Regions from separate parts of the Homo sapiens genome. Here region 2 is linked to region 1. Evidence: promoter capture Hi-C in 16 types of primary human blood cells and fetal thymus (Javierre and others, 2016). All regions are on one chromosome and are shown on one strand. Each heading gives the region's core, a stretch centred on a gene start or on the middle of the fragment in contact. The rest is flanking DNA. Distances are from core to core; before and after follow the strand shown.

Region 1 (4,992 bases), core at 990-3,489:
TGTTCTTGAAACATTTTATTTACTTGATTTTAGAAAACTATACTCTTAGTTTCCCTAAAATCTCATAATCTCTTTGCGGGATTTTCCTCATCTTTGTGACTTCCAAAATTTGAAGTGTCCCCTGGCCAGTCCTGGGTGGCTACATTCAATCTCAGAGTTTTAAATATCATCTCAATGACAAACGTTTCTGTAGTGTTTACTGTGTCCTAGGCATTGTTCTAGGTGCTTTACAAATATAACCTCATTTAATTTTCCTAACAACCCTTGACATTGGTGCTTGTTAAAGGTCATGTAACAAGGTAGTATTTCTGAGAGTGTGGTCTACAACCACCTGTATCAGAAGTGCCCAGGGTGCTAGTTTAGTACTCACCTCACAGGGTAGATGTCAGGATTAAACGGGATAATTCAAGCAAAGTACTTGGGACCAGACTTCATGAGTAATAACGACTCATTGTTGCTGTTCTTACTGTTATTGTCCAAGAGATATTGTTAAGTGAAGAGGAAAAGTATAAACATAGGTATAATTTGATTCCATTTTTTCAATTAAAAATATATGCTAATATAGACTAATAGTTCTCAAACTTCTTGGTCTCAGAACACCTTTAAAATAATTGAGGATCCCCAAACCTTCGTGTGCGTTTACCTGTTGATATTTACCATTTTAGAAAATTAAAACTGAGAAATTTGAAAAGATGTTAAAATAATGGTTACAAATACATTATATGTTAATACAAATAACATTTTTGTGAAAACTAACTATATTGTTCAAACAAAAAAATAAGAAGAGTGACATTGCTGTTATACTTTTACAAACCTCTCTAGTGTCCAGATGAGCAGGAGGCTGGAGGCTAATATCTGCTTCTGTATTCAGTCTATGGTGATATTGCCCAACAGGTGACCTCTTGGAGTGGGAGAGGGAGAGTGAAAAAGGCAAAGAAAAATTTTATTATTATGAAAATAGTTTTGATCTAAGGACTCCCCGAAAAGATGTCAGACACTCCTCAGTGGCTCACACTTGTAATCCCAGCACTTTGGGAGGCCAAGGCAGGCAAATTGCTTGAGCTCAGCAGTTGGACACTAGCCTGGGCAGCATGATGAAACCCCATCTCTACCAAAAAAAAAAAAAAAAATTAGTTGGGCATGGTGGTACATGCTTGTAATCCCCAGCTACCCAGGAGGCTGAGGTGGGAGGATCACCTGAGCCTGGTAGGTCAAGGCTGCAGTGAGCTGTAATCAGGCCACTGCACTCCAGCCTAGGCAACAGAGTAAGACCCTGTCTCCAAAAAAAAAAAAAAAACCAAAATTCTGGGGGTTCCCTAACCATACCTCCAGGGGTTCCCTGACCATGCCTTGAGAGTCACTTGTATAAGCATAAGGAAAAACCTTGATTATAGAGAAAGTCTTTAGCATTAAAATTATAGCTGTCTATTTTTTGTATTTAGGTAATGTTGAGTATTATATGTGCTACTTGTATTTTCTTATGATGATAAAAGTAAAATTTAAAAATAAAGATTGAGACCACTTTCAAAAGAACAAAGTAGTGGATGCAAAAAAGGTAGAAAATGGCCAGGTATGGTGGCTCACGCCTGTAATCCCAGCACTTTGGGAGGCCGAGGCGGGGCAGATTGCTTGAGCCCAGGAGTTTGAGACCAGCGTGGGCAACGTGGTAAAACCCCATCTCTACTAAAAATACATAAATTAGCCAGGTGTGGTAGCACACGCCTGTGGTCCGTGGTCCCAGCTGCTTGAGAGGCTGAAGCAGGAAGATCTCTTGGGCCTGAAGTTAAGGCTGCAGTGAGCCATGATTGTGCTACTGCATTCCAGCCTGGGCAACAGAATGAGACCCCATCTCAAAAAAAAAGTAGAAAATGGGGTAGACACAGGGAAATATGGATGTGGTGAAGAAAAACTTCATCCACCTAGAATTTTAGCGTAAAACCAGACCTGTGACTAGTTTATTCCCAGGCATATTAGTTTCCTGGAACTGTGATAACAAAATGCCCCAAACTAGATAGTTTAAACAACAGAAATTTATTCTCTCACAATTCTGGAGGCTAGGAGTCCAAGAACAAGGCAGGTGGCAGAGCCGTCCTCCCTCTAAAAGCTCTAGGGAGCAATCCTTAATTGCCTCTTCCAGCTTCTGGTGTTTGCTAGCAATCTCTGACATTCCCTTGTAGCTGCATTACCCCAGTCTCTGCCTGTCTTCACATGGCTTTCTCCCTGTGTGTGTGTGTTTCTGTGTATAGATTTCCCTCCTGTCATAAGGATATAAGTCATATTGTATTTATGACCTCATCTTAAGTTGATTGTTTCTGCAGAAACACTATTTCTGATAGGGTCACATTCATAGGTACTGAGGGTTAGGATCTCAACATGTCTTTCTGGGGGACATAATTTAACCCACAATAGCAGGTCATATATAAAAGCAAAATACAGATACCCTGTATAAATTTACATTCTTCTAAAACTTCACTGCTATATCAGGTCAGCTAAAAACATGTTTTGTATGCCTTTGACCATGTTAAACCCACTCTCAGCCTAGCCTGTAAAGATGATAGCTGCTAACTAACCCTCTGTGTTCTTACATTTGGCTCCTTTAAAAAAATAGTCAGAGGGAGCTCCTTGTGTCCTTTCTGCATTTTCATCATCATCTACAGGATTCCCAGCTGAGAACTACAGGGTTTTTAGTTTTTATCAATAACCTACAGAGTGAGTATTACATGTGCCATACATTCTGCTAAGAAATTTACAAATACTGTGTCATTTAACTCACACATACCATGAGTGTCCTATAAAATTACAAAAGTAATTTATGCTCATTGTGACAAGTCAAAGAATTGAGGAAGTTGTGATATCACCTACACTTCTACAGTGCCATCGCACTGTAAAGGCATATGTGACTGAAGACTGAAGGAGATGCCAAAGTTAGTCATGTGATGTATTTTCAAAGGCCCTGAGGCAGCAGTATGTCTGGAGTGTTCAAGCAACAGCAAAGGAATCTTGGGTGGATAGAACAGAATAAGCCCAGGGGAGAGAAGGGAGGGAGCTTAAAGATCATACAGGGCTTATTGATCACAGTAAGGATTTCAGCTTTTACTCTGGGTGAAATGGAGAGCTTTGCAAGGTTTTGAACAGAGGAGTGACATGACCAGTCTTAATTTTTACAGGCTGCTGTGTAGCAGCAGAGAAGCGGAGGAGTCGGTCAGCAGGCTCTTGTATTAATCTTGGCAAGCCACAATGGCAGCTCAGGCCAGAGTGGTAGCAGAGAAGGTGGTGTGAAGTGATCAGATTCTAGATATATTTTGAAGGCAGGACTAGCAGAATTTGCTAATTAATCAGATATGCAGTACAAGAAAAAAGAGAAGTCAGGGCTGATTCTAAATATTTGCCTTGAAAGGGAAGGAGTTTGTGTCAGCTAAGATGTGGAAGTCTGGGGTGAGAGAGGTTTTTTGAGAGAAAATTACGAGTTCAGTTTTGAACATGTTACATTTGAGAGAGCACCTATTCATTGTTATCTTAAGTAGTGACTTCTTGATCTTTTTGTGGACTATGACAAATGTATACTTTGTTGGGACATTTTGGGGGATTTGATTAGATCCCTCTTAAAATATAGTTGGTGAGGAACTTCAGGAAGATAAAATCTAATTGATTTCAGAGAAACTGTGACTATAACAGTCTTTGCAGAATACAGAATGTAGTGTCTTGTGTGTTTAATTTATATGTCTATAGATCTCTGCTTCTTCCCTGTTTTACTCAACACTGTTTTTCAATCTGTCCATTTTTGCTCTATGTACCTCTTGCATCTAGTTTGCAGTTTCTAACTGCTGCATCATATTCCATGTTGTGTTCTTACTCTATTTTACTTAACCTTTCCTCTAGTGAAGGAACTCCAGGTTTCTTCCAACTTCCTGTTATCCCAGCAGTGCTGCAATGAACATCCTTGTAGACATGTGAGAAACATTCATTAGGCTGTGGGATTATATACGTGCTAGATTCCAGTGAGTCCTGCAATTTCACTCTTCAGAATGGCTGCCTATGATTAAATTCTTACGAGCAATACCTGACTATGCCCATGTATCTCAGTACTAGGCTCTGCTTCAAGCACGTCTATATTTAATATACATATTTATATATTTTAAAAATTTATTACATATAGCTTTTCATGATGTTATTTCATAATTTAAAAATACTATGTAGTTTTTTTCTTCCTTTTCATTTTGTATTTTATTTGGCTAGTTTTTACTCTTATTTTGCCTGATTAGTCTTGGCAGAGGTTGTCTATTTTGCCAGTCTTTTAAAAACAATTAGGTTTAGTTTATTTCCTCAACTTTTTTGTTTTTATTCTGTTTTTTCTTTCCATATTTGTATTATTGTTTCTTCTCCTCCTCATCCTTCTCCCCCTCTATCCTCTGTGTTTGTTGCCTTTTTACCATTTGATCCTAAGCATTTTTAAATTTCTTTTAAATTTCATTTTACCCTGTATAGTATGTTTTACCCCTCGTCATTGATTGATTTTTTTCTTTACATTATGCTTAGAAAGCATACATCATATGATATTGATTTGGGGAGAATTTATGGTCACTTCCCCTGAGGCCTAGCATATGGTCAGGTTTAATAAATGTTATATCTGTGTTTGAAGGGAATATAATCCCTGTTGGGTATAAAGATTTGTATGTATTTACTAGTTTGAGCTTATAAACCATATTATTCAAATCTCATATATCAGCTTATTTTGTCTCTTTGCTCTATCAGTTTCTAAGAAGAATGTGATAGAATATTCACCTCCAACTGTTTATTAATCTGTTTTTTGCATGCTCAGTTATTTGTTCCTTTATATATTTTGAGGTTTTGTTGTTGGGTGCGTTTATGTTGGTGATTATTATGACTTACTGATATGTTATTATGAGTATATAATGTCTCTTATATTTATCTTCCTTGAATTTTTTAACATATGTTAAGAATACCTACTCTAACTTATTGTGATTCATATTT
Region 2 (4,992 bases), core at 1,028-3,527, 220 kb before region 1:
CGTTCATTGCAAATGTTCTTGAAATGTGAAATTCTTGGAAAAGTAATCAGGGACAACTATTGACAGTTGTGTGACATTTGGGTAGCCCTTTCTACAGTTAAAGTCATTGTGACTTTTAGTAGCCACACTGAAACCTTTGGAATAATGAAAGACCCTTTCAAAAGATCTTCCATACTGATGATCAGTTTGCGCCTTTGCCATCTATGGGGTATGAAATGTAAAGGCACATTTAGCCAGGAGTTAACACAGGTGTTTTGTAATGCGTGCATGTTATGAAACATCCCAAGAAAGATGTGTATTTCTGTTCACTTCTCTTAAGATGCAGTATTTAAAAGAATCATAGTGTACTTGCTAGTCTTAAATGTAAATTTTGGGCCAGGCACGGTGGCTCATGCCTGTAATCCCAGCACTTTGGGAGGCTGAGGCAGGTGGATCACCTGAGGTCAGGAATTTGAGACCAGCCTGACCAGCGTGGTGAAACCTCATCTCTACTAAAAAAATACAAAATTAGCCAGGCGTGGTGGTGCACACCTGTAATCCCAGCTACTTGGGAGGCTGAAACAATTGCTTGAGCCTGGGAGGCAGAGGTTGCAGTGAGCCAAGATCACGCCATTGCACTCCAAAGAGTGAAACTCCATCTCTGAATGAATGAATGAATGAATGAATGAACGAATGAATGAATGAATAGTATAGATTTGGGGGCTTGAAACTGAGGACTTCTTAAAGGCAGATGCTGTGTAGACATATCCAAATTTGACATTCTGAGTATTATGCAAAAGCTTTATTGTAAGTTTGACCAGTAGTGCTAGCTATTGCAGAATACGCAAAATATTCACAGGTTAAGATTAAAATAGCCGATTAAATTTTTAAGGTCTAGTTAGCATTAGAAATTAATGTCAGGTCATTCACATTTAAGCAGATGTATTGAGAGAGCTGTTCTAGGCGTTGTGGAGTTTGGAAAATAGAAAACCGTTTCTTAAAGCAATCTACAAACTACTCATGGAACAACAGTGTTTTCCTACCCTTGTCACATCACAACATATGTAGAAAATGATATTTGTGGCTGGGCACAGTAGCTCACACTTCTAATCCCAGCACTTCGGGAGGCTGAGGCAGGTGGATCCTTTCAGTCTAGGAGTTCAAGACCAGCCTAGGCAACATGGCAAAACTCTGTCTCTACTAAAAATACAAAAATTAGCCAGGTGTGGCGTACGCCTGTAGTCCCAGCTACTCAGGAGCTGAGCTGGGAGGATCACCTGAGCCTGGACAGGTTGAGGCTGCAGTCAGCTGTGATCGTGCCACTGCACTCTAACCTGGGTGATAGAGTGAGAACCTGTCTGAAAATATACAAATAAATAAGGCACACTGCAGGAAATGGACAAGGCTGCATGCTAATTGTTGTAAGGGTTAAGAAGATCAGTATCTTGGCACACCTTAAACCTGTTTAGGAAGATGTGCCATGGACAACACAGATTGTTTGTAAGATAAACTTCAAGCCTTACCTAAGATAGCTTTTAAAGAGATGTCAAGCCAAGGGAGGTTTTCTGGAAAGGATGAGTTTTAAACTGCTTTGGCAAGTATGCATGCCAGTGGTAGGAAGGAAATCCTCTTGTATCTCAGTGAAGCATTAATATGTAGATAATAGGTTTCTGGTAAAGAAATGTCATGGGTCAGAATGTCATCCAGTTCAAAACTAAATCTGACTTTAAAACAGCACAGTACAAAATGAAATTATAACAGTAACGTTAAGAATCAGTGTTCTTATAAACTATAGTATGGCTAATAAGATATTTTCTCTCTGGTTTTGGTATAATCTAACAAAAGAGTATTAGTTAACGTCAGTTTCCATTTTTGCAGTGTGACTGTATCAGAAAACAGATTTTTTTTCACACAAACTCGCTAGAAAACACATCACGGGTTGGGCGCAGTGGCTCACGCCTGTAATTCCAGCACTTTGGGAGGCTGAGGCAGGTGCATCACAAGGTCAAGAGATCGAGGCCATCCTGGCCAACATGGTGAAACTCCGTCTCTACTAAAAATACAAAAATTAGCTAGGCATGGTGGTGTGCACCTGTAGTCCCAGCTACTCAGGAGGCTGAGGCAAGAGAATTGCTTGAACCCAGGAGGCGGAGGTTGCAGTGAGCCGAGATCTCACCACTGCACTCCAGCCTGGGCGACAGAGCAAGACTCCGTCTCAAAAAAAAAAAAAACATCACGGATACCAAATCAGCCACTGACTCTCATAACATGAGCTGTGTGTGGGACAATCTGCAGTTAAAGCATGCTGATTAGTAGAAGACTGTTAAGGAAGCCCAGTTGGCATATCTTAGAAGATTGATGACTTCTGGGAAAATTTGTAAAATGCCCAGCTCTTTAACCAAATAAATTTTCAAGGAATTATTTTACTGCAAGGATATCCCAAAAAATCTTGCTGACTAAACAGCACAAAGTGTCACCTTCCTTTGGGCTGCTAACTTGCTAGACTCTCAGCGTCTGAATACCTGATCTGGATCTCTTCCATCCCAGACTTTGACCTGAAAATGAAGGCTTGCCTCCTGTTTCCCAAAAGAATACTAAACAGAAATAGCCGGGAGCAATAACTCTCTTAAGTATAAATTAAGGACTTAGGGAAGACTTTAGTTCTTTGAAAAAGGAGAGCAAAATATAGGAGATCAGTGTTCCAGGACACTGAAAGCATCTCCAGTGAGGAAAAGGCAAGGTAAAGAAAAGCCTGCCCACGCACACTCATTTGCCCCTTACTTCGGGGCTTTACAGAGGAGAAAGAGAAATTTTTAAAGGAAATAAATCTCATTCCAGAGACTTGAAAAGGCAAAACCGTAAGTCAACCTAAATATCCAACCACAGCGAATGAGTACAGATACTGTGGTTTGTTAACACTGGGAGAGCATACAGCTTTTAAAAACTTGTGAGTCAGAGGTTATATTAACATACTATGAAAACCCCTGTTGAGAGAACAAAACAAGTTGTATACTAACGTTTAAAAATACATAAAACAATACAAATGTTTTATCATTTTATATATAGTGACTCTATAAACATACAATGGATTAAAACACCAAATCAGGCCAGATGTGTGGCTCACACCTATAATCCAGGCACCTTGGGAGGCCAAGGTGCTAGAATCGCTTGAGCCCAGGTGTTCCAAGATCAGCCTGGGCAATATATCAAGACCCCATTTCTAGAAAAATTTTAAAATTAGCTGGGCACAGTGATGTGTGCCTATGGTCCTAGCTACTCAGGAGGTTGAGGCAAGAGGATCACTTGAGCCCAGGAGTTCAAATTACAGTGAGCTTTGATCATGTCACTGCACTCCAGCCTGGGTGGCCAAGTGAGACCCTATCTCTCAAAAAAAGTAGAATAATATATGTGTGGGGAGGAACATAAGGGAATAGGATTAGGGAACTGTATAAAAGGATTGTAACTTTTTTTAATTGGATAATAGGTATATAGGTGTTCATTACAACAATCTCAAATTTTAAATGTCATTTAAAAAATTATACAACTTATGCTGACATATAACTCTACGTGAAAGGAAATATATACAAAGATTGAGTCGGGCAAAAGTAGAAAAATGACAGGTCATAACCATAGGATGAATAGAATAGAAAGTTTACTAATACCCCTTTAAAAAGTCATTAGACTCATTATTTTACAGAGAATTTTATCCAACTTACCACATACAGATAATTTTCTATGTTACAGAAATTATTTTAGATGGTAGAAAAAGATAGATATCATTTTATGAGACTTATTTATAAGCTTAAATAAGAATAGCACCAAAACCAGAAAACTGATCAAACTTCCCTGTATAGTCAAAAGTAAAATTCCTTAATACATTAATAAAGAATACTACATTATGATCAAGTATGGTTTATCACTGGAAACCAATGATTGTTCCCTGTTAGGAAATCTAGTACAGTAGCCTCCTATATTAGCATATTAAAGAAAAGCACATATAATTCTCTGAGAAAATATCATTAAACCATTTGATAAAGTTTAGTCCCTAATCCTCACTTTAAGGGCAGCATCTCAAATCAATGGGGCAACAGATGAATGATGCTGAGACAACAGGGTAGCCAGCTGTGGGAGAAAAGTTGGATCTATACCTCATACCTTACACCAAGTTAAAATTGCACCAAAGATTTAATGATATAAAATGATATTGGCCACGTGCGGTGGCTCACACCTGTAATCCCAGCACTTTGGGAGGCCGAGGCAGGCGGATCACTTGAGGTCAGGAGTTGGAAACCACCCTGTCCAACATGGTGAAACCCCGTCTCTACTAAAAGTACAAAAATTAGCCGGGTGTGGTGATGGGTTCCTGTAATCCCAGCTACGGAGGTTGCAGTGAGCTGAGATTGCGCCACTGCACTCTAGCCTGGGTGACAGAGCGAGATTCCATCTCAAAAAAAAAAAAAAAAAGATATCATAAATGTTCTTGAAGAAATGGTATTTTTTAAGTAATAGCAATATCAGAATAATTTTAGAAAAAACCCTTAGAATCCATTCAATAAAAATAAAAATGTATTTGGCTGGGTGCAGTGTCTCATGCCTGTAATCCCAGCACTTTGGGAAGCCAAGGTGGGCAGATCACTTGAGTTCAGGAGTCCGAGACCAGCCTGGCCAACATGGTGAAACCCCGTCTCTACTAAAAAATACCAAAATTATCCAGGCATGGTGGTGGGTGCCTGTAATCCGAGCTACTTGGGAGACTGAGGCAGAAGAATCGTGTGAACTCGGGAGGCGGAGGTTGCAGTGAGCCAAGATCGTGCCACTGCATTCCAGCGTGGACAACAGAGTGAGACTCCATCTCAAGAAAAAAAAATATATATATACTTCATAAAAATTAAGATTTTCTACATGGCTTAAAATGCTCTAAACAAAGTCAGAAGACATCATTCACAAGGGAAAACATTTGCAACTTACCTAACAGGTGGTTACTTTTTCAAAAATCTAATGAGTACCTACAGC

The links. The method cuts DNA at HindIII sites, captures the fragments that hold promoters and counts their contacts. A CHiCAGO score of 5 or more calls a contact.
Region 2: a fragment that was not itself captured here is called in contact with the fragment with the promoter of ST7-AS2 in region 1 in 1 of 17 cell types (erythroblasts); the score reaches 5.0 in erythroblasts.

Annotation. Positions count from the first base shown.
Region 1 is chr7:117,143,353-117,148,344 of GRCh38, forward strand. ST7-AS2 (ST7 antisense RNA 2) reads right to left here and starts at 2,240. Exons shown (of 5, transcript NR_109981.1): 1 at 2,044-2,240; 2 at 815-901. The region is part of intron 9 of ST7 (suppression of tumorigenicity 7); the gene reads left to right. The HindIII fragment of the contact is 5,952 bases long and covers 1-4,992 here.
Region 2 is chr7:116,922,055-116,927,046 of GRCh38, forward strand. No RefSeq gene overlaps it. Among named protein-coding and RNA genes, the nearest start is that of ST7, 29 kb to the right of the region's middle. The HindIII fragment of the contact is 3,001 bases long and covers 778-3,778 here.